5 separate regions of the Homo sapiens genome follow, and all the other regions are linked to region 2. Evidence: promoter capture Hi-C in 16 types of primary human blood cells and fetal thymus (Javierre and others, 2016). All regions are on one chromosome and are shown on one strand. The core of a region is centred on a gene start or on the middle of the fragment in contact, and the rest is flanking DNA. Distances in the headings are between cores, read along the strand shown.

Evidence for each region. Contacts are between HindIII fragments. The CHiCAGO score rates a contact against its expected background, and 5 or more counts as called.
Region 1: a contact is called between a fragment that was not itself captured here and the fragment with the promoter of SNHG25 in region 2, in 6 of 17 cell types (naive B cells, total CD8 T cells, total B cells and 3 more). The highest score is 8.9, in naive B cells.
Region 3: a contact is called between a fragment that was not itself captured here and the fragment with the promoter of SNHG25 in region 2, in 1 of 17 cell types (total CD8 T cells). The highest score is 5.8, in total CD8 T cells.
Region 4: a fragment that was not itself captured here is called in contact with the fragment with the promoter of SNHG25 in region 2 in 5 of 17 cell types (naive CD4 T cells, naive CD8 T cells, total CD8 T cells and 2 more); the score reaches 7.6 in naive CD4 T cells.
Region 5: a contact is called between a fragment that was not itself captured here and the fragment with the promoter of SNHG25 in region 2, in 12 of 17 cell types (naive CD4 T cells, naive CD8 T cells, total B cells and 9 more). The highest score is 12.9, in naive CD4 T cells.

Annotation. Positions count from the first base shown.
Region 1 is chr17:63,885,709-63,891,621 of GRCh38, forward strand. No RefSeq gene overlaps it. Among named protein-coding and RNA genes, the nearest start is that of GH2, 6.7 kb to the left of the region's middle. The HindIII fragment of the contact is 325 bases long and covers 1,680-2,004 here.
Region 2 is chr17:64,141,998-64,147,355 of GRCh38, forward strand. It overlaps SNHG25 (small nucleolar RNA host gene 25), which reads left to right and starts at 3,973. Exons shown (of 2, transcript NR_132278.1): 1 at 3,973-4,003; 2 at 4,233-4,312. It overlaps SNORD104 (small nucleolar RNA, C/D box 104), which reads left to right and starts at 4,081; the gene lies at 4,081-4,160. SNORA50C (small nucleolar RNA, H/ACA box 50C) reads left to right here and starts at 4,342; the gene lies at 4,342-4,474. It overlaps TEX2 (testis expressed 2), which reads right to left. Exons shown (of 12, transcript NM_001288732.2): 12 at 5,230-5,358. RefSeq lists enhancers at 3,660-4,214, 4,192-4,401. The HindIII fragment of the contact is 1,672 bases long and covers 3,225-4,896 here.
Region 3 is chr17:63,814,743-63,820,636 of GRCh38, forward strand. DDX42 (DEAD-box helicase 42) reads left to right here. Exons shown (of 18, transcript NM_203499.3): 16 at 821-931; 17 at 2,126-2,224; 18 at 2,952-4,575. The coding sequence ends at 3,656. FTSJ3 (FtsJ RNA 2'-O-methyltransferase 3) reads right to left here. Exons shown (of 21, transcript NM_017647.4): 19 at 5,513-5,696; 20 at 5,337-5,431; 21 at 4,691-5,252. The coding sequence ends at 5,060. Among named protein-coding and RNA genes, the nearest start is that of PSMC5, 9.7 kb to the right of the region's middle. RefSeq lists an enhancer at 5,083-5,894. The HindIII fragment of the contact is 2,959 bases long and covers 544-3,502 here.
Region 4 is chr17:63,833,203-63,838,806 of GRCh38, forward strand. It overlaps SMARCD2 (SWI/SNF related BAF chromatin remodeling complex subunit D2), which reads right to left. Exons shown (of 13, transcript NM_001098426.2): 2 at 4,239-4,423; 3 at 3,993-4,035; 4 at 3,720-3,842; 5 at 2,210-2,365; 6 at 1,503-1,598; 7 at 1,272-1,373; 8 at 965-1,126; 9 at 707-804; 10 at 385-520; 11 at 96-218. Among named protein-coding and RNA genes, the nearest start is that of SMARCD2, 6.7 kb to the right of the region's middle. RefSeq lists an enhancer at 1,841-2,000. The HindIII fragment of the contact is 2,098 bases long and covers 254-2,351 here.
Region 5 is chr17:63,853,889-63,859,479 of GRCh38, forward strand. It overlaps the pseudogene TCAM1P. Among named protein-coding and RNA genes, the nearest start is that of SMARCD2, 14 kb to the left of the region's middle. The HindIII fragment of the contact is 6,211 bases long and covers 1,001-5,591 here.

The DNA of each region.
Region 1 (5,913 bases), core at 592-3,091, 260 kb before region 2:
AGGGGACAGCATTTGGGTGAGGGGAGGAGAGGGAGCAGGGGGTGAAGTAGGGAGGGAGTGTGGTGCACTGAACTCAGCTCCTTGGGATACTGTTTCTGCAGACCAACCACGGTTAGAGGAATCCAGTTGCTCTGCCAAACAGACCTGGCTGGAAGGGATGGAACACACGCTCACCTGCGTCCCAAAGGGAAACCCAGCTCCAGCCTTGGTGTGTACCTGGAATGGGGTGGTCTTTGACCTTGAAGTGCCACAGAAGGCAACCCAGAACCACACTGGAACCTACCGCTGCACAGCCACTAACCAGCTGGGCTCTGTCAGCAAAGACATTGCTGTCATTGTTCAAGGTAACCTTTGCTGCCCTGCTGCCAGGCCCAGGATGGAAACCCCTCAGGGGTTTGGGATTCTTATCTAAGCATGAAAATAAGAAAGATTCTACTAGGTTGGGAAGAATGAGACTCAGAAGTGGGCCTGGTGGGCTGGGGTGGGTGATCCTTGTACTCTCAGACTTTCCTAACTCTATCTTCTGTGCTTGGGCAGGACTGGATGAAGGAATAAGCTCTACCCTCTTTGTCATTATTACCGTTGCCCTTGGAGTGGGTGTCATCACCATAGCACTGTATTTGAGCTATCGGCCCTGCAAAGTGGACAGGAGGAAATTGCTCTATAGGCAGAAAGAGGAGGACAAAGAGGAGGAAAGCCAGTTTGCTGTTCAGGAAGAGAAAAGTACAACTCATATAATTGACAACTGTTTGATTGAATGAGACTTCTGCTACTGTGGTTTCCCAGGGAGGGAAGAAGGGATAGAGGAGAAAGGAAGAAACACAATGGCAGGCTGCATTCCCCTTTGTGTACGTCTGTCCTGTAAAACGGTGTTTCAGGCCCCCATGCCCCATGTCCTGTGTGTCCAATATGTCCACAAGCTCACCATTCTCTCTCTCTCTCTCTTTTCTTTTCTTTTTCTTTTTCTTTTTTTTTTTTTTTGAGATGGAGTCTTGCTGTTGTCGCCTAGGCTGGAGTGCAATGATGCGATCCTGGCTCACTGCAACTGCAGCCTCCCGGGTTCAGGTGATTCTCTTGCCTCAGCCTCCCTGGCAGCTGGGATTACAGGTGCACACCACCATGCCTGTCTAATTTTTGTACTTTTCGTAGAGATGGGGTTTCACCATGTTGGCTGGGCTGGTCTCAAACTCCTGACCTCAAGTGATCCGGCCACCTTGGCCTCCCAAAGTGCTGGGATTACAGGTGTGAGCCACCGCGCCCAGCCACCTTTCTCTTTAGAGCTCACTCTATTCATTAGGAATCTCAGTCTCAATGTTTGATTTGTAAGAAGGCCTCTTGCTCCTTGCCAGGTGCATCATCAGTCCACTCTTAGATCCAAAAAAAAAAAAAGAAAAGATCTTGCCGTTTCTTCATGGTTCTCACTGCCCTTTTCTCTTAAACATCATACTAAAGTCAGGCATATCTTAGAAATACAACTCATATTTCATGGTTTTCTGATTACTAACTGGGAACTAAATCTGTAGTCCAAGGACAGGACTTTGAAGGGAGTAAGTATCAAATATGGGGCCAGGAATCAGAGCTCTGTTCCTATCTCCACTTTCCCTTGCTCCCCTGACCTGGGCTTCTGGAGGGCCAGCTCCCAGAGCTGAGCTTGTTGACATCATTAAGGATCAGTGGCAAGCTTCAACTCAGTAACCATCTGTTGCGGGTCTTGGGGGAGTATACAGATGGTAAGAAATTCCACTTTGGGCCAGACGGGCATCCTATCTAGCTCAGTATTCTGTCTCTGAAGGAGAAGGTAGAGTTCTTCCATGAAATTGGCCTCATAGGTTAAGAGCTCCAAACATCTCTGAATTCCTTTTCATAGAGTGATCAACTGTGAGTTCGCATTTGCCAGTTTTCTTTTTTTTACCCATATGGGCATCTAGGTTAAAGTTCCAATCTTTACTCTCCCTTTTCATCAATAAGTGCATATTTTCTTCTGTCTGTAAACAATTTCCTTGAAGCTTCAAGAGGAATCTTCTTGTGAAAATGTTCATATGATTTTATGTTTCAGCTTCTTTCCCTGTCCTTGAGAAAGAGTATATTCACCCTCGGAGAAGGCGTGAGGAATCACAGAACCAGATGTTTTCTCCCAAATCAGTCAAGAAATGTTCACTGGAATGTTGCTATGGTAAAAATAAAAGTGGTTTTATGATGTCCAAATGCAGTTCCCTTCCCTTCTGTGTCATTGCTAAAAGCTCTTATGTCAAATGGCTGCATTTTATAACTTTTTTTTTTAGATGGAGTCTCGCTCTTTGCCTAGGCTGGAGTGCAGTGGTGTGATTTCGGTCCACTTCAAACTCCACCCCCGGGTTGAAGCAATTCTCTGCCTCAGCCTCTATAGATTAAGAGTAGCTGGGATTACAGGCGCCCACCACCATGACCAGCTAATTTTTTGTATTTTTAGTAGAGACAGGGTTTCACCACCTTGGCCAGGCTGATCTTGAAGTCCCGACCTCGTGATCTACCCACCTCGGCCTTCTAAAGTGCTGGGATTACAGGCCTGAGCCATCACTCCCGGCTGCATTTTATAACTTTAAGTACAATTTCTAAGGAAAAAATACCGTGTTGATAGCATAAACAACCAGCCCAGGGCCGGGGGTGCATTAACTGAGGGCAGCAGCCTATTTGACCTGCTTTCAAAACTGAAATTCAGGCTGGTGTGGTGGCTCACGCCTGTAATCCCAGCACTTTGGGAGGCTGAGGCAGGTGAATCACTTGAGCCCTGGAGTTTGCGAATAGCCTGGGCAACATGGCAAAACCCCATTTCTACAAAAAACACAAAACTTAGCCAGGTATAGTGGCACATGCATGTAGTCCCAGCTACTTGAGAGTCTGAGGTGGGAGGATCACTTGAGCACGGGAGGTGGAGGGTTGCAGCGAGTTGAGATCATGCACTGCACTCCAGCCTGGGCAACGGAGCCAGGCCCTGTCTCAAAAGCAAAATAAAGGAACAAAAATGAAAGCTAAAGGTCAGACTTCCAGATAGAGAGAGGTCCATAGCCTTCCAAATTGCAGATACCAGCTAGAAAAAACCATGGCATCAGACAGCAGAGGGAAAACGTTTTCCCATTCTTCCCAGACCTCCCCTGAGTCTGGTGCTATAGATTAAGTGTAAAAGTAACCCTTTGGTTTCACCACATACAAGGCAGTGGGGATACAGTGGTGAACAAAACATTGTTCCTGGCTTCCAAAAATATATTAGGAAAGCTAGACAAACAAGTAGGAGATTACATTTGTGCATGAACTCCTATGACTGGGAAAACAGATTGTTAAGAGAAAGCATAACTCGGATCAAGGAAGGCTTCCCGGAGGGACACGAAATATCTTGACTTTGTAAAATAGCATCATCCCCGAACATGAACTTTTCAACCTCAATGTTTCCACTAGGTGGAGCTACTGCTCCTTCATCATGTGAGTCTAATATAAATCATCCACCTTCCCTGAATTGAGCATTTGGGGAAGTAAGTTAAGAAGCAGGTTTAAGAGACAGGAGTATACAGCCACACCATGCAGGGATCCACAGCCATTTTGGTGTCAGGATCAGTCGCATCAGGGCTGTAGTTACCCTGTATCTGCAAACCCTGCCTCATGGCCTCAGTGCCTTGAAGCACAGCGAATCCAAAAAGGAAGGGAAAAATGAGCCAGGCATGGTGGTGTGCACCTGTAATCCCAGCTACTGGGGAGGCTGAGGCAGAAGAATCGCTTGAACCCGGGATACTGAGGTTGCAGTGAGCCAAGATTGCACCATTGCACTCCAGCCTGGGCAACAGAGTGACACCCCATCTTGAAGAAAACAAAAACAAAAGCAAACAAACAAAAAACAAAACAAACAAAACAAAAAAAAGAGGGAAGAAGGGGGCCACTTGGACTTTCTAGTTCCAGCAGGGAGATCCTGGAGGCTTAGCCGGCTGCTGCCTTTGCTTCTCACTGCCACAGGGTGTCAGTGTTGACAGATGGTCCCACACAGTACCCTCAAACCAAGCGGGTCTGCAGATCCGGGTTCCCAGCTGCTGTGGATCTCTGAGGGAGGATGATCTGCTTCTTCGGGGCCTGGTCCAGCTGCGGGTGTCCTCTTGCTGGGGTTTCCAGGGTTCCAGTTCTTAGAGCTCAGTAGTTTGGATGAGCCGTCCCGCAAAGCTCTTCAGAGTAGGCTGGGCTGTTTCCCTTGTAGACTTGGAACCTCTGTTCGCTTTCCTTCCCGAAGGATCCACACAACCAGTGGTCAGGCAGGCAGCCCCTTCTCATTGATTCTTTTTTTTCTTTTCTTTTTTTTTTTTTTTGGAGACAGAGTCTCGCTCTGTCTCCCAGGCTGGAGTGCAGTGGCACAATCTCGGCTCACTGCAACTTCTGCTTCCCAGCTTCAAGCAATTTTCCTGCCTCAGCCTCTGGAGTAGCTGGGATTCCAGATGTGCGCCACCACACCCGGCTAATTTTTGTGTTATTAGTAGAAACAGGATTTCATCATGTTGGCTAGGCTGGTCTCAAACTCCTGACCTCAGGTGATCTGCCCAGCTTGGCCTCTCAAAATGCTGGGAGTACAGGCGTGAGCCACCACACCCGGCTTCATTGATTCTTAAAGTAGGAAGGGTCTCATATCTCTTTTCCAGTATAATAGAGCTTCTAAGGGTAGCTGCCTCATTGTCTATAAGAGGAGGCCCCACCCTCTAAATGGTTTTGATCATATTCTTTCTGAACATTAAAGCAACCAGCTTATGCTTAAATTGCAGCTACCTTGATTATCTCCAGAGGAAGAGTGGCCTTTAATACTCCAAAAGTTTACCCTCTTTCTTACTATTTTTGAGAGAGAATCTTGCTCAGCCATCCAGCTGGAGGGCAGTGGCATGATGGGCTCAGTGCAACTCTGCCTCCTGGGCTCAAGTGATTCTCGCGCCTCAGTAGCTGGGAATACAGGTGTGCACCATCACACCTGGTAATTTTTGTATTTTTAGTAAGAGACGGGGTGCCACCATGTTGGCCAGGCTTGTCTCGAACTTGTGACGTCCTCCCGCCTCAGCCCTCCAAAGTGCTGAGATAACTGGCGTGAGCCACCGTGCCTGGCCGTTTATCCTCTCAAGGATGGTCAGGGTGACATTCTGGTGTCTTTCTCTCTAGACCTGAGAAAGCATAAGTTACATCGTTAGTGGGACTTCTTACCATAGGATTAATAATAGTATTTACCTTAGAGAATTATAATTAGAAAGAAATGACACAATACATGTAATAAACTAGCATGGTGCTGGAGATATGTGTTCACATTAGTTGTTTTTTATTATTACACTGATAATTCTAGTGGTAATTAAGCACATCTTTATAATCACAGTAAACTCAAAGCAAGAATCAGAAATCCATGATAACCATGAGGGCCATCAAAGGTCATATACACCGAGCACAGCTTTCCGGTTTTTCTAGTCTTTTTCTTGCTCCTTCCCCTACTTTCCCCACAGTTTGGTACCCTAAGATTTAGGACTACTAATAGGGTGACCAGTCCTGTTAGCTGAGTGTTCATTCAGCTGAGGGATCCCTGGAAGGAACGTGGGACTTTCAGTGTTGACATTGAGAAAGTCTCCTGCAAACTAGGACGAGTTGGTAACCCTAATCCCAGCGGTGCTCATTGTGTGCCACAGCACTTCAGGGCCTTCTGAATTAAAGAAGCAGCCAGGCAAAATGTCAGCTTGTCTTGGCCTAGAAGCCCAGACCCTGTAATTCAGAAGAAAAGGGAAGGGGTCAGTTCTGCTCTCAACTGTGTATAAAGGGACAAAACCCACCATGTGTATTTCGACAATGCTCATGGAAGAAATTCAGAATTGGTCACTTTAGGTTAGGGTAAATTCAAAAAAAATGACAGAGTCAGTAAAACATTATGCCAGG
Region 2 (5,358 bases), core at 2,723-5,222:
ACTAAAAATACAAAAAAAAAAAAATTAGCTGGGCATGGTGGCATGTGCCTGTAATCACCATATTGGCCAGGCTTGTCTCGAACTCCTGAACTTGTGGTCCGCCCACCTCAGCCTCCCAAAGTGCTGGGATGACAGGCGTGAGCCACCATTCCCGGTCACTATTTGGAAATTAACATCATTCTTCTAAATAACCCATGGGCCTTTTCTGCCTCAACTGCTTCCAGGGCACCTGTGGAAAAAGCTTGTGATGAGGTGGGGCAAAAAATAGAAGCCAGTTCTCAAGTTCACCTTTGATTGTACCCACCCTACAGAAGATGGAATCAATTTACAAAAATTTACCAAATTACAAAAATTTATTAAAATGATTTTAGTAAAATTAGATTTAAATTAATAGAAATTGCATTTCTATATACCAGCAATGAACTCTTGGAAATTGAAATTTAAAAATAGTATCTCTCATGTTAGAGGCTTGACTAAAAAAAAAAGAATAAATATAGTATCATTCATAATAGCATTATAAATGAAATCCTGAGGGATAAATTTCACAAAATATATGCAAGATTGTACAATGAAAACTATGACATTGCTGAGGGAAATGAATAAGACTTAAATGAAGAAATATACTGTATTCATGGGATGAAAGACTGAGTGTTGTTAAGATGTCAATTATTCCCAAATTGATCTACAGATTCAATATAATTTCAGGCAAAATTCCTACTGGTCTTCTGTAGAAATTGACAAGCTGATTCTAAAATGTTTCTGGAAATACAAACAACCTAAAATAGTCAAAATAATTTTGAAAGAGGACAAAGTTACAGATCTTGTATATCTGATTTTAAGATGTACTATAAAGCAATGGTAATAAAGGGTAGATAAATAACAGTGCAAAAGAAGATACTGCTTAGAAACAAACCAACTCATATATGGTCAATTTTTTTTTTTTTTACAAACATGACAAGGTACTTTAAGTGAAAGGATATCCTCTTCAACAAATGGTGCTGGAACAAGTGAATATCCATATACAAACAAATGAACCTAACTCTTGTCTCACACTAGACACAAAAATTAACTTGAAAAAGATAATAGACCTGAATGCGAGAGCAAACACTATAAAACTTCTCGAAGAGCGGGCGCAGTGGCTCACGCCTGTAATCTCAAGAAATTTGGGAGGTCAAGGTGGGCGGAACACGAGGTCAAGACATTGAGATCATCCTGGCCAACATGGTGAAACCCCATCTCTACTAAAAATACAAAAATTAGCCAGGCATGGTGGCGTGCGCCTGTAATCCCAGCTACTCGGGAGGCTGGGGCAAGAGAATCACTTGAACCTGGGAGACAGAGGTTGTAGTGAGCTGAGATCGCACCACTGCACTCCAGCCTGGTGACAGAGCGAGACTTCGTCTCAATAAATTAATTAATTAATTAAATTAAATTAAATTAAACTTCTAGAAGAAACCATATAAAAGAAAAATCTGTATTAGGCCAAGATTTCTTAGATATGAAACCAGAAGTACTGTCTATTAAAAAATTGATAAATTAGATTTTCATCAAAATTAAAAATGTCTCCTCTTTGAAAGACACTGTCAAGAAAATAAAAAAGCAGGCCAGGCACGGTGGCTCATGCCTGTAATCCCAGCACTTTGGGAGGCTGAGGCGGGTGGATCACTTGAGGTCAGGAGTTCAAGACCAGCCTGGCCAACATGGTGAAACCCCGTCTCTACTAAAAATACAAAAATTAGCCGGGCATGGTGGTCCGTGCCTGTAGTCCCAGCACTAGGGAGGCTGAGGCAGCAGAGTCGCTTGAACCCGGGTGGCAGAGGTTGCAGTGAGCCAAGATAGTGCCACTGTACTCCAGCCTGGGCGACAGAGCCAGACTCTGTCTCAAAAAAGAAAAGAAAAGAAAAGAGAAGAGGAGAAGAAAAGAAAAGAGCAGGCCGGGCGCGGCGGCTCACGCCTGTAATCCCAGCACTTTGGGACGCTGAGGCGGGAGGATCATGAGGTCAGGAGTTTGAGACCAGCCTGGCCAATATGGTAAAACCCCATCTCTACTAAAAATACAAAAATTAGCCAGGCATGGTTGTGCATGCCTGTAATTCCAGCTACTGGGGAGGCTGACGCAGGAGAATTGCTTGAAGTCGGGAGGCGGAGGTTGCAGTAAGCCAAGATTGTGCCACCGCACTCCAGCCTGGGCAACAGAGTGAGACTGTCTCAAAAAACAAAACGAAACAAGTAATGGAGCAAAGCTTCTGTTGCTCCACATCCTCACTGGCATTTGGTATTTGAGGCATAATCTTAACACATCACAATCAAAGCCAACAGCCAACTTCCAAGCAAGTACATAATACACAAAGCAGAGCTGTGGACAATGTAATTACAACACAACTAAGGTTGAATTAATAAATAAATATTTTATACCATGTTTGTACTTGATAGTGAAAACATCTTCGTTTCAACAATCTGTGGAACACTTATAAAAACTGATATTTTAGGTCACAAAGAAAACTTTCATACATTGCCCAATGCGGAAACTGTACCATAATGTAATAAATGTTGAGATAACGAAAGTTAAAACAGCAACAAAAATAAATAGAGACTACTAAACACTTGTCAAAGTCATTATTGCTTTGGATTAAAGAGGTTTTTTTTTTTTTTTTTGAGATGGAGTCTCGCTCTGTTGCTCAGGTTAGAGTGTAATGGCGCGATCTCAGCTCATTGCAACCTCCGCCTCCCGGGTTCAAGCGATTCTCCTGCCTCAACCTCCTGAGTAGCTGGGATTACAGGGGCCTGCCACCACGCCCGGCTAATTTTTGTATTTTTAGTAGAGACAGGGTTTCGCCATGTTGGCCAGGCTGTTCTTGAACTCCTGACCTGATCCATCCGCCTCCGTCTCCCAGAGTGCTGGGATTACAGGCGTGAGCCACCGCGCCCGGCCAAAGAGGAATTTTTTGAATTTAAAGTCTATATAGAAAATAAGGAAAATAAGAGCCCATTCAACTACAAACCCATAGGGTGAAATGATTTCACTGTCACATACACACACACACACAAAACAATAAATTTTCCGTATTAAGAGGAAAAAAAGGAAAAGAATTCCCAAGGAAAACAGGGAGGCAATAAAGATAACCGGCGACTGTGACTGCTGGTGTACTGTGTCCTCCCCCAGTTAAGCAAACTATCATTCATCCACCTGTATGTCCGGGGAACAGGCTCAATCAACTCTGCGAAGCTTTCCCAAAGTCAGGCTTTCTGTCCTTTGGGCTTCTACAGTAGGCTGTTCATAGCGCTATGTTAGTATTTATTAAAGTTTTGCAATCCCAGGAAGTTTTTCACATCACTCTGCCCTTTAAATACCTTTGTTTACCACTTAGAATGTGCCAGGCAATTGGCATTAATTCACCGAATCCTTACAATTTTTTTTTTTCGCGGTGTGTGTGTGTTGGGGGGGGGCGGCGGGGGGGTATTCCTAATTTCCAGAAACTGAATCTCAGAAAGGTTAACTGAGCAAGGTCACAGAGCGAACGCATCACAAAGTCAGGATGTGGTGCAGATCGGTCCATTTTCAATACAAGCTCTTTCTACCACGACAGGTTATTTTGCACTTGGGGACAGTTTTTAACTTTCCATTCTCAACTCCTATCCTAGCTCCTGGCACAGAACATGTCATCCAAGTTAGGCATCATCGTCGCCTGCTCTTGGTGAAGTTTTCTTTTGCGTACTGCGGAGAGATGCGCTCATTACCAGCTGGCGGTGGAGTCGCTGAAACGCAAATGGATTTGAGACTGAGCGACTCCCATCTCTATGGTTGGTATGTGACCCATCTATCCTCTGGAGGACTCAGCAAGGACTACCAGTCACCAGACAACTTTACGCGCACGTGGTCGCAAGGTGAACTTGCTATTGGTTAATGGCAGTAAAGCCCGCCCATCAGCGCTGGTCTGCTCCTTTAAAAGAACGCCATCGACGCTCCCCTGTCTTTCAGCGCCTGCAGGTTCCGGGAGGTCAGGTTGTATTCCTGGCGGGTCGTCTGGCTGGGTGGGCCCCGGAGGTCGTGGCTCGGGAGCAGGGAGGCGTAGGGGGGCCGGCCTGCTGTGATGACATTCCAATTAAAGCACGTGTTAGACTGCTGACGCGGGTGATGCGAACTGGAGTCTGAGCCTGCCCGAGCGGAGCTGGGAGGGGGCTGGCGGGCGGGCGCGCGCACACCCGCTGATCTATCACTCTCGTTCTTGTAGCTCCCAGCCGAGGACGTCGGATGTCATCGTCCTTGCTGCTTTGCCACCCCATTCCCGTCAATAAAGTGGTTTGAACCCAACCCTGGTGTCGGTGTGTGTCGTTGGCGACGCGCTGTCTTTGAGCCCCCGCCGAGCTTCCTCGTGGCGCCGGGGGTCAATCTGCAGCGCTAGAGCATGTGCTTGCGCATAACTGGGGCCGCCTGGCCTCCCGCGGGCGGCCTTTTTAACCGCGAGCGACAAGAAGTAACCTGACTGTCCGGCTGCTAGGCTGGGCAATTTTCCAGCTGTTTTGCCACGACAGGCCTCAATCCGTAATACCAAGGCTGGAATGGCGTGTTAGGGGGGCGGTGGCTGACGGGGATACGCGGACTCTTGATGCGTAAGGAGTGCCCCTCTGCTCCCATACGTTCCCCAGCCCAGCCTTCCCTGAGTGTATCGCGCGCGCTGTGCCTTCGCCGTGAGTTCGACATAAGTCCCAGGCTGTCGCGTCTGCCATCAGACGCGCAGATTTAGTTGAAGGCAGCGTGGAATGGCGTCTGCAGGGCTGTTGTGTACTTGACATAAACAGATTCGGTGTGGAACTGCATTGAGTTAACTCCTGACTAAAGGGTAATCGACCTGTTTACAAATAACCATGCAGGAGTACTGACAAGCATGGGACTAAAGCTTTGGGCAGGTTAATCTGTCACTCCTAAACAGTTCAAAATTATAGGGCGGTTGTGAAGGTGAATTAGATTTTATATATGGTTGGGGACAACATAGACACCTAGTTACACAGTCCAGATTCAGTGATTGGTAAAAGATCTTCCACAAGGGCTCCAGTGAAAGGTGCATCAGTTCTGAGTACAGGGCAGCAATGGTGGGCAAGGATGCACGTATGCGTTCACTACATGGACATTCGATGAATGAAGGTGTCCCGAATTAACATTATACTAGACAATGAAGGGTGTAAACTGCAGCCCAGGAGCACCACTGCCCTACCCCCTCAGTTACGAACTTTCACTGGATTCTTTAAATGTGGGCTGAAGATAATGGCACATAGTTTGAAGGATGTAGTGAGGATGGCTTTGTAGCCTTAGGACTGGGCAGTGATCAACGCAGTAAATGAAAGCTGCGATTGCCAGGT
Region 3 (5,894 bases), core at 773-3,272, 330 kb before region 2:
GCAGTGGCGCAGTCTCAGCTCACTGCAACCTCTGCGTCTCCGGTTCAAACAGTTCTCCTGCCTCAGCCTCCCAAGCAGCTGGGATTAGAGGCATGTGCCACCATGCCTGGCTAATTTTTGTATTTTTAGTAGGGACGGGGTTTCACCATGTTGGTCAGGCTGGTCTTGACTCCTGGCCTCAAGTGATCCGCCCACCTCGGCCTCCAGAGTGCTGGGATTCATAGGCGTGAGCCACCGCCCTGCATTCTTAAGAGAATGTGAGTAAATATGTTGAGTGGCAATGGTCAAGTTCAATGAAAACTTTTACGCTCTGCGGGTAAATAAAATTTTCAGTTGTGTGGCTACCATCCTTTCTGGGAGTCTGTCCCTATAGTCAGTTCTGATAAGCCTCACTTCACATAGCATTTTTCCTTTGCTTCTGAACATACCAGTTGTTTAAGTTCCAAATGTTTACGTCCAATAATACATGGTTTGAGAAATAAAATATAAGCTCATTTTCCTCAAGGAAGTTAGAAGTAGCCAAAGTTACTCCTCTGGGTTTGAAGCTTACCTGAACAACTTCCCTTCCAGGAGAGCCTTGAGGGAGGGAGCACTGTAGGAAGCCTTAGATAAGGATCTCAGCCACTTTTCAAATTTGGTGGATTATGCTACCAAAGAGAAACCAATCTGTGGTTCCTGTGAAAATTCCTCCCTTAGCGTAGTGCTGGCTGAAAATTAAGCAAAAGTTCCCCCTTCCCACTTAATTTCCTCTTTGTCCTCGTTCTCTTCTTCTGTTCTTTTCTCCCTCCCTTGACTTAACCTTGAATTTTGTTCAATGCAGAATGCCTGGTTTCGGAAATCTCGATTCAAAGGAGGGAAAGGAAAAAAGCTGAACATTGGTGGAGGAGGCCTAGGCTACAGGGAGCGGCCTGGCCTGGGCTCTGAGAACATGGTGAGTCTAGACTACTACAGTAGTGCCTTTATAGTTGGTCTCATGTCCTGAAAGTCATTAGGAATATTCTCATCTACCCAGGAAAGCCTCAGTGAGTTTAAAGCCCTGTCTAGAAGGGAATTTGTATTTAATCTGATTTGAGTCAATGCAGTGCTCATTCTTATGGTAACTTTCTATTGAAGAAGCATCTTTGTGTACTTGGTTGACTAGGCTTGCTCAGGAAATTATTCTAGATTAGCAGTGATCTCACACTGTGGTCCCTGGACCAGCAGCACATGCAAACTCATCCCCAACCCCAGACCTTGTGAATCAGAAACTCTGGAGTTGGGGCCCAGCAGTCTGGTTTTATAAGCCCTTCAACACTGGCCTAAAGCCTGCTGCTAGGTAAATGTTGCCAAAGGGTCACTGTAAAGTCTAGCCATATCTTGTCATTAAACTCAGGAACGGATCAGGAATTTCCAAGTCGGGAGCTAGTTTTTCTCACAAACCAGGTAACAAATGTACCCTTTTGGTGGCCTTTCTTAACTGCCTGTTTTCTGTCACCTTGATTCCAAGCCAGGGAAGAAAGCTGCCAGTATACTTTTCTGGAGCATTAAACTTGGCATCTTTGTAATTACATACTCTGTTCCCACATTATAATAATAATGATGATGATGCATAATAATAGGTAATATTTATTGAGCACTTTATATGTGCCAGGACCATTCCAAGCAATCAGATGTTTTGGCTCAGTTAATCTTCAAAATAACTGAATGGAAGTTAGTACAGATAACAATGCTGAGGCACCTAAGGTTACAGTGACAAGTGTTCAAGCCGAAATTCAGACCCTTCATGGTCTTGATTCAGGGCCTGAGCAGTCACACAATATGCTATTCAGGGCCTTTTCATCTTTAACGTAATTTTTACTTAATTAATTGGAAGTGTTTATGTAAATACATGATCAACTTTGGGCATAATCTGATTGCATTTCTGTTTAATAGGGTTAATTTCCAGAAATAGAATTTCTGGGTTGAGGGCATAAGCATTTTTAAATGATTGTCACTGTGTCTTTTCTCACAAAGCAGTAGCAGCTTTCTAAAAGTATCCAGTTCCTTTGTAGCTCCCACTTCAAGGGTTTTCATAATGAGGCCTAGTCTATAGCAGTGAGCTTTCCTGCTTATTTTTTCATTCTCATAGATGTGTTTATTTTTTTAGGATCGAGGAAATAACAATGTAATGAGCAATTATGAGGCCTACAAGCCTTCCACAGGAGCTATGGGAGATCGACTAACGGCAATGAAAGCAGCTTTCCAGGTCTGAAATAAGCATTTCATTAAAAGCACTTTCAGCAGTAACTCTTGGGCAGTGACAGAGGGGCTTAGTTTTCCTGGTTGTAGCTGGGCGCCTAGGCTTGATGCTAGATTTAGGGTCTTCACGCTGCTTGGATTTTGAATATAAACCTAACAGTAGCTTAGTTGGAAATGCAAGTTGATCTAGAGAACCCCTTGTGCTGGTCTACTTTGAGTCACACTTGGGGCCTGGGATTGTTGTCCTGCAGCAGGGTGTGTGTTCCCTCCCTTCCCAACAGCCTGAAGTGTTGCCCACCTCCCAGGCACCCACCTCCAACTCACTTCTGAAGCAAAATTTACTGATAGTCACACTAAGGTGAATCGATAGAATGAGTTCAAGGCAGGTTTTGCTGTCAAACTTAAATTGCAGTATGAAAATTTTTTTTAAGTTTTCAGAACTTTTTGGTTTTGAATGCAGATAAATGTGCTAAATACATAGATGCTTTATTCTAGCCAATCAGGCTATAAAAGTACATTTCAGAACACTGGGGGTCCATCTCTCCACAGAGATCCACAAGTTTTCCTTTATAGCACAAGAACAAAAGGGACCATACTGTGGGGCCATCAGGACACTAAACTCACAGTGCCAGGATAGCACAGAGTTTCTGTAAACCTCATCATTTGCCAAGTTGTATATTCAAGTTTCTTGAACTTGCTATCTTACCTACTCCTGATGTCTCTTTCTCTTTCAGTCACAGTACAAGAGTCACTTTGTTGCAGCCAGTTTAAGTAATCAGAAGGCTGGAAGTTCTGCTGCTGGGGCAAGTGGGTGGACTAGTGCAGGGAGCTTGAATTCTGTTCCAACTAACTCAGCACAACAGGGCCATAACAGTCCTGACAGCCCCGTCACCAGTGCCGCCAAGGGCATCCCAGGCTTTGGCAATACTGGCAACATCAGTGGTGCCCCTGTGACCTACCCGTCTGCCGGAGCCCAAGGAGTCAACAACACAGCTTCAGGGAATAACAGCCGAGAAGGGACTGGGGGCAGCAACGGGAAAAGAGAGAGATATACTGAGAACCGGGGCAGCAGCCGTCACAGTCACGGAGAGACTGGCAATCGGCATAGCGATAGTCCACGTCACGGAGATGGTGGTCGCCATGGAGATGGATACCGCCATCCAGAAAGCAGCAGCCGTCATACTGATGGCCATCGGCACGGGGAGAACAGACATGGAGGAAGCGCAGGCCGGCATGGGGAGAACCGGGGTGCAAATGATGGTCGGAATGGGGAAAGCAGGAAAGAAGCTTTTAATCGTGAGAGCAAGATGGAGCCCAAGATGGAACCCAAAGTGGACAGCAGCAAGATGGACAAGGTGGACAGCAAGACAGATAAGACAGCTGACGGCTTTGCTGTCCCAGAGCCGCCTAAACGCAAGAAAAGTCGATGGGACAGTTAGAGGGGATGTGCTAAAGCGTGAAATCAGTTGTCCTTAATTTTTAGAAAGATTTTGGTAACTAGGTGTCTCAGGGCTGGGTTGGGGTCCAAAGTGTAAGGACCCCCTGCCCTTAGTGGAGAGCTGGAGCTTGGAGACATTACCCCTTCATCAGAAGGAATTTTCGGATGTTTTCTTGGGAAGCTGTTTTGGTCCTTGGAAGCAGTGAGAGCTGGGAAGCTTCTTTTGGCTCTAGGTGAGTTGTCATGTGGGTAAGTTGAGGTTATCTTGGGATAAAGGGTCTTCTAGGGCACAAAACTCACTCTAGGTTTATATTGTATGTAGCTTATATTTTTTACTAAGGTGTCACCTTATAAGCATCTATAAATTGACTTCTTTTTCTTAGTTGTATGGCCAGGCAGTCCCCATTTTAGGAGTTGGCTTCTGCAAATTCAATCCATTGAGCTAACTGTTGGGGAGCAATTTGGTAGTTGTAGACATTTGCAGGGAAGGGAGATGTCTGATTCTAAATGGGAGTTGATGCTCAGGTCCCCAGCCAGGTTTGCATCCAGCCCTGAGACATGTAGGAAACACCTTTCAGACCCAGGCTCTGAAGATTCCCAGAAGCCACAAGGATTGAAGGGAAAAGGTGATCCTGGTAACTGTTCCAGGATTGCTCCAGGTTTGAGATGGTATTGCTAAATTTAAAATTAAACAAGAAACCCAACAACAGCTTTTAAAGTGTCTTCTATCTCATTGTATTTTTTTTAACTTGCCCCAATGATAGAAAAGTCTTTTGCTGAAATGATTTTGATGATTTTTGTTTATCGTTTATAAAAAGGAAAAGAAATATACAAACTTTGACTTTTGTGACTTTGTGAAGGTTTCTTTAAGATGTGCATTCCTTTCTGCTTGCTCTCTAGTAAATGTTTTACTACCGGGACCTGTGGATCGTTTGTCATTTCTGTCTATGAATTGGTACATATTAAGAATAGTGCCGCACACAGTGTAGGGACAGATAGGGAAGTGCTTATTAAAACTGTCAGAAAAGACAACTCTTCCATTATCCTGGTTTTATTCAGGAATAGGATGGGGGTGGGGAGGGCTTAAGTGGCCCACACGTCCAGGTGTAGACTGACTACATTGAGTATCGCTCCAACACCGAACTTCCCTTTAACGGTTTAAAAAAAGGGTCATGAGTGTCAACACAGTTCAGCAGTGTTTTCATGGGAGACCTTCAGGCAGGCAGGAGGACATCCTCCTCTCTGCTCAGGACCACCACGGGAGTTCTAGGCACTCCACCTCACTGTTCTTCAGACAGCTGTGATGTGAGCAGGGGCTAGGCCGGTAATCAAGGGGGCCAGACTGAGCCATGCCACACCCTTCCTCCTAGTCCCCATGCTCTCCTGGGAGCCTGGCAGCTCTGCTTACTTCCGTTTGTGTTTTTTCTTTTGTTCCTTACGTTGCTGTGCTCTTTGGTCCTTCTTCATCCTTGAGTCCACCACCTTGAAATGACCTCTGACTCCAGCTGGCCGGCGCACTTTGCGGCCCACACCTTTTTTGGCTACAACGTAGGTGACATGGCGTTTCTCCTTGCCAAGCCCAGCCTTCTTGTAGAGACTACAGGGGGGAAGAGAAGAGGTTAGAGGCTTGCTTTCTGCTGCACTTTTAGCCCTGTGTACCTTTGTGGTGTCCTCCCATTACCTTCGCAGCTGTGCCACTTTCTCTCGTTCTGAGATGTCCACTGTGTTCACCACGGCTTCTGCCTTCTTCCTGGTCTGCTCCAGCCTCTTCAGCATCTGCAAAGGAACCTGTCAGGTGACCTCTTCCCCATCCCCCCACCCCCACCCCACCCAATCTCTGGAGGCCCCATCACTTACCCTCCTTTTCTTTCTAGCCTTAGCCTCAGCCACCTTCTTGATGGGACGTGCATTGATTTCCCGCCAGCGTTTCCGGTAATGCTCCACCTCCTTCTTACCAACAGGCAACTGTCGTATCCGGTGCTGCTTTTCCTCTTGCACAAACCACTCCGGAAGCTCCCCCTCATCCTCATTAAATGTGTACCTGAGTGGAAAGGACATCTGTCTAATATCCAACATTCCAGGCTTTCTAAAGAAATTACCAGACTGGGCACGGTGGCTCACGCCTGTAATCCCTGCACTTTGGGAGGCTGAGGTGGGCAGATCACCTGAGGTCAGGAGTTTGACCAGCCTGGCCAACATGGTGAAACCCCATCTCTACTAAAAATACAAAAATTAGCTG
Region 4 (5,604 bases), core at 53-2,552, 310 kb before region 2:
ATCCCCACCCCTGGGCTAATCCACCCTGGGAACTGCTGTGGGTAAAAATCACCCAGAGCTTTACATAGGAGTCCCCTCGGGAAAGAGGACTACACCTTGAGGTCTCGGCGCTGGGAACGGAGCCATTCCTGGATGAAGTCCTGGGGGTCGGTGCTAAAACTGAGCATGAAATCTCTCTGGGTCTTCAGCTGGTTGATGGACTCAATGGTCTCATGGATCTGGAGAGGGTACCTGTGTCAGACTGTGCCCCCAAAGCTTACATGCAAGCAACTGAGCCAGAGTTCCCATCCCGTCCTCCAGGTGCTACATGTATGGAAATGCTGGACAGAGCCAGCCCACCCCAATCCTGGGCCCCAGAGGAAGCTGTGGAGCCAGAGGGCCCACCTTGACATCAAGGGAGGCGATCTCCTGCTGATTGGTGGTAGAGGCCAGAAAATTGCTCATTTGGGCCTTCAGTGGGTCGTCCACCTCCACATCGATGTCGTAACAGGCTGTCTTCTTCTGGTCGTTAGGGTCGACACTGCAGGCAGCACATGGGGAGGGAAGGCACATAGCTGACTTCATCCTGCCCACCTGGGCCAAATCTGGGGCCCATTCTCTGCACACACTCAGGGAAAAAGAAACCTGATGCTTTCTTTGGCTTTAGTTCAAGCCAAGGGTGAATCTGCTCTTAGAAGAGCCTTCCTGTCCCCCTCCTTGCATTTACCTAATGACATGGTTGATGACAATGGGGTCTGGATGCTGCAGCAACCCTGCCAGCTTCATGGGAATCTCGGAGAAACGGAGTCGGCCACAACTGAAGATCTGGAGGAAATACGAAAGGCTCAGCGTTGGCTTGTGGGCACAGTGGAGTGGACCATTCCAGGACCAGTGAGGGCAGCAGTCTGCAGGCTGTGGCCAAGGAGTAGCCCAGCAGGCAAGGCAAAGCAAGGGCTGAGAAAACGGGGGCTGGCATCTGGCTAACCTGGCGGAAGTAACGGTTGCAGTTGATGTACTCCCGCTCGTGCCCATCCTGCAGCTGGTTGTGCTTGATGTAAAGCCACAGGGCCTGCATGATGGCGGCCCTCGTCTGCGTGTGCACTCCCAGCAGCCTTGCCAATCGGGGGTCCAATTTGTACTGGGGAGGCTGGAGTTGGATGGAGGGGAGTCAGAACGGGTTCTTATAGTAGAACAGTGGGAAAATAGGGCAGGGACAGGAAGGGTTTCTAGGAACCAGCTCCCCTCCTGAGGGGTCCCTGTGGGCCCAGAAATGACCCCAGGGTCTCTGTCACCTGATGATCCAGCATGAGCAGGAGGGTGCACTTGACGTTGAGGTCTCCAGGCCGTTTTACTTGGAAGCCATCTGTCTCCTGGGTGGTGGGCATCCGGTGCCACTGGCAGGGAGGGAAGCATGGCTTATCACCAAGGGGGTGGGCGTGAACACAGGGCCTCCCAAGGGCCCTGAGGCCATTTCCCTGCCAAACCTGCACATCAGCCTGCTTTTGCCCCAGGCCCACTCTCACCTCCACCAGGTGATTGTCAGGCCCGTACAGCTCCTTGTCCAGCTCAATGACGAGGCTCTTAAAGAATGAAGAAAACTTCCTCTTCTGTTTGCTAGGCTGGGGATGGAAAGGGGTGTGAGATGGTGCTGCTGAGCTCTCAAATCTCAAGCTATGCTAAATCCCAAGAAAGAGAAGCCCCATTTCAGCCCTGGAGCTCCGGATACTGAAGATTCCTGGGCCCTGAAGGATGGAAGCAGGACTCTGGGCAGACTGGAGGCAGGGAAATGGTGCCCTCTTGCAGCCCACGAGGGACTTCCTCGAGACACTCGACTGCCATCTGCAGGAACACTGTAATAACCACACAAATCAACCTCCAACGGGCTTGGAGCAGCGCCCCCCTCCCTATGGCAGGACTTCTCTGGGAGCGCCCAAGTGTCTGGCCCAGTCTTTTTTTTTCTGAGACACAATCTCACTCTGTCACCCAGGCTGAAGTGCAGTGGTGTGATCATAACTCACTGAAGCTCGACCTCCTGGGCTCAAGCCATCCTCCTGCATCAGCCTTATGAGTAGCTGGGACTACAGGTGCATGCCACCGCACCCAGCTAATTTTTAAATTTTTTGTAGAGATGGGGTCTGGCTCTGCTGCTCAGGCTAGTATCAAACTCCTTGGTCTCAGTCTTAAACCCACACAGGCCTCCTTCCCTCCAGAACCTCCCTCCCCAACTCACATCATCCAGCAGTTTTCCTTCCACTCGGAGTTCCCAGGAAGCCACCTTGTCCCCTGCTGGGGTTCCCCCAGGGGTCCCTGCAGTTCCTGCACTATCGCCTTCCGCCTTGCTGGGACTGAACGTATTGGAAATGTAGATCCGAAGCTTTCGCTTTTGCTAAAGAGAGAAAGGCAATCACAACTGGAGGTGGACCAAGATGCTGGGACACAGTGCTACCGCATCTTCTCATATGAACCATTCAACAATCAGTACTGAGCACCATGAGCCAGCCAGGCACCTTGTCAGGTACTGGGAATCAGAAGTAGTAAGTCCCAGTCCCAGCCTTTTTTTTTTTTAGACATGGTCTCACTCTGTCACCCAGGCTGGAGTGCAGTGGCGCGATCTCAGCTCACTTGCAACCTCTGACTCCCAGGTTCAAGCGATTCTCTTGCCTCAGTCTCCCATGTAGCTGGGACTACAGGTGCGCACCACCATGCCCAGCTAATTTTTTGTGTTTTTGTAAAGATGGTATTTCAACATGTTGGCCATGCTGGTCTCAAACTCCTGACCTCAGGTGATCTGCCCACTTCGGCCTCCTAAAGTGCTGAGATTACAGGTGTGAGCCACCGCACCTGGCCGGAACTCACCATTTTATGGGGAAAGAGATGCATCACCAACAATGCCAGCACAGTGGGACTGGTGCTACGGCATGATGGAGTAACACGCAGCCAGTCTCTGGCTCACATCTTACATGAAACCCAAACACCCATCACGGCTCCAAAATATCCTAGTCCCCTGGAAAGGCTTCACCACTCGGGACTGTTCTACATTATTATTAAGAAAAGCTTCTCGGCTGGGTGCAGTGGCTCACGCCTGTAATCTCAGCACTTTGGGAGGCCGAGGCAGTCAGGAGTTCGAGACCAGCCTGGGTAACATGGCGATACTAAAAATACAAAAATTAGCCGGGCGTGGTGACAGGCATCTGTAATCCTAGTTACTCGGGAGGCTGAGGCAAGAAGAATTACTTGAACCTGGGATGCGAAGGTTGCAGTGAGCCGAGATCGCAACACTGCACTCCAGCTTAGGTGAAAGAGCGAGACTCCATCTCAGAAAAAAAAAAAAAAAAAAAAAAGAAAATTTCTCTATGGATGGGGAAGGGGAAGGAGAAAGGAACTACCTTTATCCCCTAGTCTAGTGGTTTTCAAACTTTTGACCACCACCCATAAGATTTACATTTTCAATTATGACCCAAGGTCTGCATATCTATTTATCAGAAACAAAAATGTCATGAAAGAATCCATTTACTACTATGGTAAGTACTACTGTGAAGTATTTTAAGATTTTCTACTGTCATATATTCATTTAAAACATACTGGCCCCAACACATTCAACTGAGTTCGTACTCTACTAGTGGGCTGCATCCTGCATGTGAAAAACCCGGCTCTAGCCCAACTTGCTTGGCCCCTGGAAAACAAGGGGGTGGAAGGCAAGGAAACCTGGGAAGGCTAGAGGTGGTCAGGGCCACACATACTGTCAGAGGCTTTTTGATGGCCTCCTGGATCTCCATCCGCTTGCGAGCAATGGTCTGGTCCAGCTTCCGCTCAAAAGCCAAGAGATCCATGTACGCCTGAGACTCTGGAACAAGCTCCCGGATCTGAAGGAAGGTAGCAGAAGCTCATCAGCTTGCTTCAGCCAAAGCCTGGCTCTTTCCTCCCTTCCTGCTGCAGCCCAGCTTTGAGAGAGATGGACACCCACCCCAAGGTGGCCACTGGGCAGGCCTCCCAGGTGTCCTCTTAACACTTACTCGCTGAGGTAGAACCTTATCTGCCATCTTCCTCCTCTTTAACCTGGGGAGGACAGAAACCCACTTAAGAGGTCAATGGTCCAAAAAAGGACACTCACTCCCATAACGCCCCTCCAGTCTCCAGGACCCTCTCCCCCAGGAGAGCCTGGAGTCATCCTCAGTCACCAAAGCTCTTAAGATAGAAGGAAACCCTCTGCTACCACCAGAGCTGAGTTAGGCAGAGTGAGAGAAGCAGGATGCTCTTACCCCCGGCGCTGGGCAGGCATGGGAGGCTGCGCCTGGGGCACAAGCAGGCGTTTTCGGAATGGATCCATCATGGTGGGTGGCATGCCAGGTCGAAGCGGAGCTGCTGCACCAAATGGGGAGCCAGCAGGGGGTCCCACCTGCAAGCCAGCCATGGGCATCCGGTTCCCTGGTGACATGCCAGGTCGCTGGGGGAAGTGAGCCAACGGGGGTGCATAGGTCAGGGGCAAGGCCCTCCGGGACCCATAGCCCATGCCCTCCATCCCTCTCGTCAGCCAGGTAGGGCCTGAGCAGCACACCAGAGCCCTGCTGGAGCCCCAGGAACAAAGGGGAGTGGGCGCCTGAGCACAGAGTGTAAACCACACCTGCCCTGCCCCCTGCAACCGCCCTGGCAGCCATGCCAGCGAATGAGGCCTGCCAGAACCTGGGCTGGGAGGAGGGTCCTGCCTGCAGAGGGAAGGGCCTTGGGGAGCTTTTCAGGGCCCATTGCTACCTTCCAGCCCCAGCATGCTGTGCCCTATTCCCTGGGCAAGCTGGTCCCTATTCTCTCAGACAGTCCTGCCAAGCCCTGCCCTCCTTCTCTTTCTCCCATCATGAAGAAGAAGCATGGCTGAGAGGCACAGGGGCAGTGTCACTGCCAGGCAGAGGAGTGTACTATAGTATGAGTAGGCCAATGGCGCAGAGCCCCAATCCCCATCCTCTGTGGCCGAGGGAGAAAGGGGTCTGGTAGGCAGCAGCACCCCAGGTGAGCAGGGCTGCAACAGGATGGCTTGGAACGTGTACCAGCTGGTGGGGGTGGCCTCGGGCAGGGTACAGGGACCCTGTACCCTGTAGTCTGGTATCACATAGCCCCCACCCACAGCCCAGAACTGGACCCTCCTCTTACCTCCCTACTGCCCAACTACTACCCCTATGACAGAAGACCCCAGAAGGGAAGCTATGGCTCCTGGGTGGCCTGTGGGAAAGAGAGCAGCTAGCACCTGGACTCTGCCAGTGGTCCAGGCACCACCTGGCAGCCAGGACTGGCTCTGGCTCCGTGTAGCCCTGGCAATCCCAAGCTGGAGAAGGGGGCTAAGATTATCCTGGGAGGCAAGGATAGAGGCCCAGGCTGAGCAGCAGGAAAGTGGGAGACAGAAATAGCTTCTTTAGATGCCTGCAGAAGGATTTCCCACCTGAGGCCTTGCTCCCTGACATTTCTGTGGAGCCCATCTGGGAGTCACCTCCACCCCCACCCGCCTCCCCATGGCTGCTGCCTGCAAGGCCTGTTTGGCAGCTCTGCCTTGCACACACTGTCCCTGGCAGCTTCACAGGGCTGGCCCCAGGGCCCAGATTATGCAACGAGCACAACCAGCCAACCAAGCCCGGCAGG
Region 5 (5,591 bases), core at 2,856-5,355, 290 kb before region 2:
TCATAGGCTCTGTGCTAGGTGCTGGAGACACAAGATAAGTACACTAGAGCCTCTTACCCTCAAGGAATTTCTAGTATAGTGATGATTACATCACTGAAATAATTCACCAAAGTGAACTAATATATGCAACTTCAGAAATCTTGTTTGGCATAAAGTGAGGTAGAGATCATGTATAACAAGTAAGGGACTGTGAAGTGGGATAAGGCTAGTCAAGAAGCCTTTCTTAGAAGAAATTAGCTTGAATGAGTTTTTGTTTTGTTTTATTTTTTTGAGATGGAGTCTCACTCTGTCACCCAGGCTGGAGTGCAGTCGCATGATCTCGGCTCACTGCAACCTCCGCCTCCTGAGTTCAAGTGATTCTCCCGCCTCAGCCTCCCGAGTAGCTGGGATTATAGGCACCCACCACCACGCCCGACTAATTTTGTATTTTTTTAGTAGAGACGGGGTTTCACCATGTTGGCCAGGCTGGCCTGAAACTCCTACCTCAGGTGATCCACCCGCCTCAGCCTCCCAAAGTGCTGGGATTACAAGTATGAGCCACCGTGCCCAGTCTAAACTCAGTTTTTCATGTTTCCATGCCAGCACCCTTCTATTGACTCAGTCTAATAGATGGAGGCAAACTAGTAAAAAGGTAAGTAGAATACAACTTATACAGGAATCTTGATAATATCGCCTCATCCTTTTTCATATTTTCCCCCATGTTTTTGCTATGCACATAAGCTAAACTGAAATAAATAGATATAAGACATTCTTTTAGTACACCTTCACTGCTGATGTTTTTGCTGTAATTTTTCTAGACTAGTGAGGTTTCAGAAAAAGGGACTGAGTTTTAATATCAAATAAGCAATTTTCCTTATATATATATTTTTGGTCACTTTCTCCAGCATTGCTGTCTTTTTCTCTCCAGCCTTTGGCCCTTCTTATCAGGATGAAAACGCTTCTGTTTGGTGTCTGGACCCTGCTGGCCTTGATCCTTTGCCCAGGTGAGGCTATTCGGGAAAGCTTTTTAAACCAGTATGTGTCAGGACACAGGTAGCTGGTCAGTGAGGAAGGGGGTGGGGAGTCCTGAGTGGGGTGACACTTCAGTGTTCATTCATCTGGACCCGGGGGAAAGATTCCTGTCTCTTGGATCACTAGGACACAGAATCGTTACGGTCTCTGGCTTGTATTTGGGATAACACTAGTTAATAGACTATCAGAGAGGACTCTCCCTAGGAAACATGCCTTCTCCGCTTGGTTCCCTTCTGCCCCAGGACTGCCCTGTGTTTCTCCTCTTGAGAATGTTTTTACTTCTTTGTTGCCACCGTTTGTGTCATGATGAACTATAATAGGCTCTTGGTAGGACAGGACCCATACATAGCTCAGGTACAGAAAGTGAGTTCTCCTGATGACGGGAAAGGAACAGGGGCCTTAGCAGGTAACATTGCTACAAGAGCTGTGTATTCCCAGAGGGGACTGGTATTGGGAGGTGAAGTAGATGGTAGATATGGACTAGCTAAAGAGGACCTGTAGAGAAGCCTTCAGGACTTCCTGAAGTCTCCGTGCCCTTTACCTACATCAGGCATCTAAAATCCATCCGAGGCCAGGCGTGGTGGCTTGGCCAGGCACAGTGGCTCATGCCTATAATCCCAGCACTTTGGGAGGCTGAGGCAGGCGGATCACCCAAAGTCACGAGTTCGAGACCAGCCTGACCAACATGGTGAAACCCCGTCTCTACTAAAATTAGCCGGGCGTGGTGGCATGCACCTGTAATCCCAGCTACTTGGGAGGCTGAGGCAGGAGAATCACTTGAACATGGGAGGCGGAGGTTGCAGTGAGCCGAGATCGTGCCATTGCACTCCAGCCTGGGCAAAAAGAGTGAAACTCTGTCTCAAAAATAAAATAAAATAAAGTAAAATAAAATAAAAATCCATCTGACATCTCCCATTGCATCAGAGAAGATTTCCAGAACAGACGAAATTTGTAAGCATCCAAAACATCCATTCCCTTAGCGCCAAATCAAAATGGAATGGTCTCACTCTGAGAAGAGGCATAAAGAAGAGGCATGGAAAATGAGTGACCCTGGGAGTTACCTGCAGGCCAATGGATCTGAGAATTTGGTGTGCATAAGGGTCCCCGGGAGGCTTGTTTTATTCCTTAGCATATTTTCAGGTCCCACCTTCACAGGTTTGAAACCATGCGCTCTGAGGTGGAGTTGGAGTCTGCAGTTTACAAGCATTTAGGATGATTCTGGCAAAGGGAATCCTTAGCCATAATTTGAGAGAGACACTGCTTTCAGGGATAAGTAATGAAGTTCGAATCCTGTGAGGGTCCACAGCAGCCTATTATGGGGAGCTTTCAAGAATTCTGAAAGTTTAGGAAGATATTGGTTTCCTGGGCATAATTTTTTTTAGCAACTCCATAATTTCCATGGTGATACTAATAGAGAATTCAAGTTCTCAAGAAAGATGATAGGTGGAGGGAATAGTGGTGAAATCAGAGCTAACTTGTTAACTACAGTTTTTTTTTGTTTGTTTGTTTGAGACGGAGTTTCACTCTTGTTGCCCAGGATGGAGTGCAATGGCACAATCTCAACTCACTGCAACCTCTGCCTCCTGGGTTCAAGTGATTCTCTGCCTCAGCCTCCTGAGTAGCTGGGATTACAGGCACGCATCACCATGCCTGGCTAATTTTGTATTTTTAGTAGAGACGGGGTTTCTCCATATTGGTCAGGCTGGTCTCTAACTTCCAACCTCGGGTGATCCGCCCACCTTGGCCTCCCAAAGTGGGGAGGATTACAGGCGTGAACCACCCCGCCCGGCCAATTACAGGTCTTTTGTCCTGTCTGGTTGTCTGAACCTTTTTTTTCAGGGCAGGTTTCCTGTTCTCTAACCTGGAACTAGATAGAATAGGTTCTGTATTTATTTGGGTCTCGTGGTCCTCACCAGAGTCATTGGCATATGTGGTTCATTTTTTTTTTTTTTTTTTTTTGAGATGGAGTCCTGCTCTGTTGCCAGGCTGGAGTGCAGTGGCACAATCCCGGCTCACTGCAACCTCTGCCTCCTGGGTTCAAGCGATTCTCCTGCCTCAGCCTCCCGAGTAGCTGGGATTACAGGCGTGCGCCACTACACCCAGCTTATTTTAGTACTTTTAATAGAGACGGGGTTTCATCATGTTGGCCAGGATGGTCTTGATCTCTTGACCTTGTGATCCGCCCGCCTCGGCCTCCCAAAGTGCTGGGATTACAGGCGTGAGCCACCGCGCCTGGCCGATGTGGTTCATATTTCAGGGGTCCCGGAAGAGTTGTTTGAGGTTTCTATTTGGCCAAGTCAGGCCCTGGTGGAGTTTGGACAGTCCCTAGTGGTCAACTGCAGCACTACTTGCCCAGACCCAGGACCCAGTGGAATTGAGACCTTCTTAAAGAAAACTCAGGTGGGCAAAGGGCCTCAGTGGAAAGAGTTTCTTCTGGAGGATGTCACAGAGAATTCCATCCTGCAGTGCTTCTTCTCTTGTGCAGGGATTCAAAAGGACACAAGCCTTGGCATCACTGTGTATTGTGAGTAGGGCTGAGGGCTGGGGGCAGGGGGATGGAAAGGAGGAATGGGGAAACATGAACATGTCTTATTTAGGGAAGGATGGGACAAATGTTTCTAATTAGGGGAGATAATTAAGGCCCTTAATAAAGATTTCTGGCATACTGTAGGGATTCTAGATCCAATCACCTTTTTCATTTATTTTTTTTTTTTTGAGATGGAATCTTGCTCTATTGCTCAGGCTAGAGTGCAGTGGTGTGATCTCAGCTAACTGCAGCCTCCACCTGGGTTCAAGCAATTCTCCTGCCTCAGCCTCCCCAGTAGCTGGGACTACAGGCAGCCACCACCATGCCTGGCTAATTTTTGTATTTTTTTTAGTAGAGACAGGGGTTTCACCATGTTGGCCAGGCTGGTCTTGAACTCCTGACCTGAAGTGATCTATCTGCCTCAGCCTCCCAAAGTGCTGGGATTACAGGTGTGAGCCACCTCAAGTCCAGCAAGTAGAAGTGAGCCGGGCCCACTTCTACTTCCCTTTGATGTAGGCTTTCTTCTGAGTTTTAAATTAGGAGCAGACCATAGAGAGCATCCAGATTATCTGTGCTTGAAAATATCTTCAATACAGGAAACATATGCTAATAATGTTTATGGTTAAATTACCAAAAAGTATAAGATTAGCCTGGCCACAGTGGTTCATGCTTTAATCCCAGCACTTTGGGAGGCCAAGGCAGGAGGATCACTTGAGGCCAGGAGTTTCAGACCAGCTTGAGAAACACAGTGAGACCTCTGTTTCTACAAAAGAAGTTTTTAAAATTAGCCAGGCATAGTGGCGTGCACCTGTGGTCCCAGCTACTTGGGAGGCTAAGGTGGGAGGATCCCCGGAGCCTAGAAGTTCAAGCCTGCAGTGATCTATGATCACACCACTGCACTCCAGCCTGGGCAACAGAGTGGGATCCTGTCTCTTAAAAAAAAAAAGTATGAAATTAATGCTGAATTGTTTGCTACAAGCTCTTGGAATAAACAGAGATTGGAGAGAGAAGGGTTTTTGTGAGCTGGGGCAGCCTGAGAAGGCTCCATGGTAGAGGAGGCTCCTGCACTGCCCTCCCCCAGGATAGTTAGGGTTTGAATTGAAGGGGACAGGTGAGGAAGGCCTTTCAGGTGGGCAAATAACATGGACAAAGATATGGCACGAAAGCAAATGTGGTCTCTATGGGGTCAGAACTTGGTTAGCTATAGTTTGGTTTGTTTGTTTGTTTGTTTTGAGATGGAGTCTTGCTCTGTTGCCCAGGCTGGAGTGCAGTAGCACAATCTTGGCTCACTGCAACCTCTGCCTCCCGGGTTCAAGCAATTCTCTGCCTCAGCCTCCCGAGCAGCTGGGATTACAGGCACCTGCCACCGCACCTGGCTAATTTTTGTATTTTTAGTAGAGACTGGGTTTCACCATCTTGGCCTGGCTGGTCTGGAACTCCTGACCTCAAGTGATCCGCTTGCCTTGGCCTCCCAAAGTACTGGGATTACAGGCGTGAGCCACTGCACCTGGCCTGCTACAGTATAGATTTTATGTGATGCTAAGGAGCCCCCGGAAGCTGCTCTTGCCTCTGAAGCCCCTCTGGTAAGAGATCAATGCTTTCCAGAATGGCAGCAACAGTCAAAGCAAGGGACTCTCCCTCAGCAGTCACTCTTCTTTGCTATGGCCATAGCCACTTTTGATGCGAAGAAGAAGAGCCAGAAGACTAACTCACCCCATCTAGGGCAGGGATGGCAGAAAGCTGACATTGCTGATCAGATGGTTTAAGGGTGGCAGTCACCTTCTGTGATTTGTATCACCTCATCTTTCTGTCCTATGCTGTTTCTTTCTGGAGAGGTGGGTGGCATGCTCATCAAGTCCTGCCTTTTTGTCTTAAAGAGCCACCAGAGCAAGTGATCCTGGAGCTGCAGCCTGCCTGGGTGGCTGTGGACGAAGCCTTCACAGTGAAGTGTCATGTACCCAGTGTAGCACCCTTGGAGAGTCTCACCCTTGCCCTTCTCCAGGGTAACCAAGAACTGCATAGAAAGAACTTTACGAGCTTGGCTGTGGCCTCC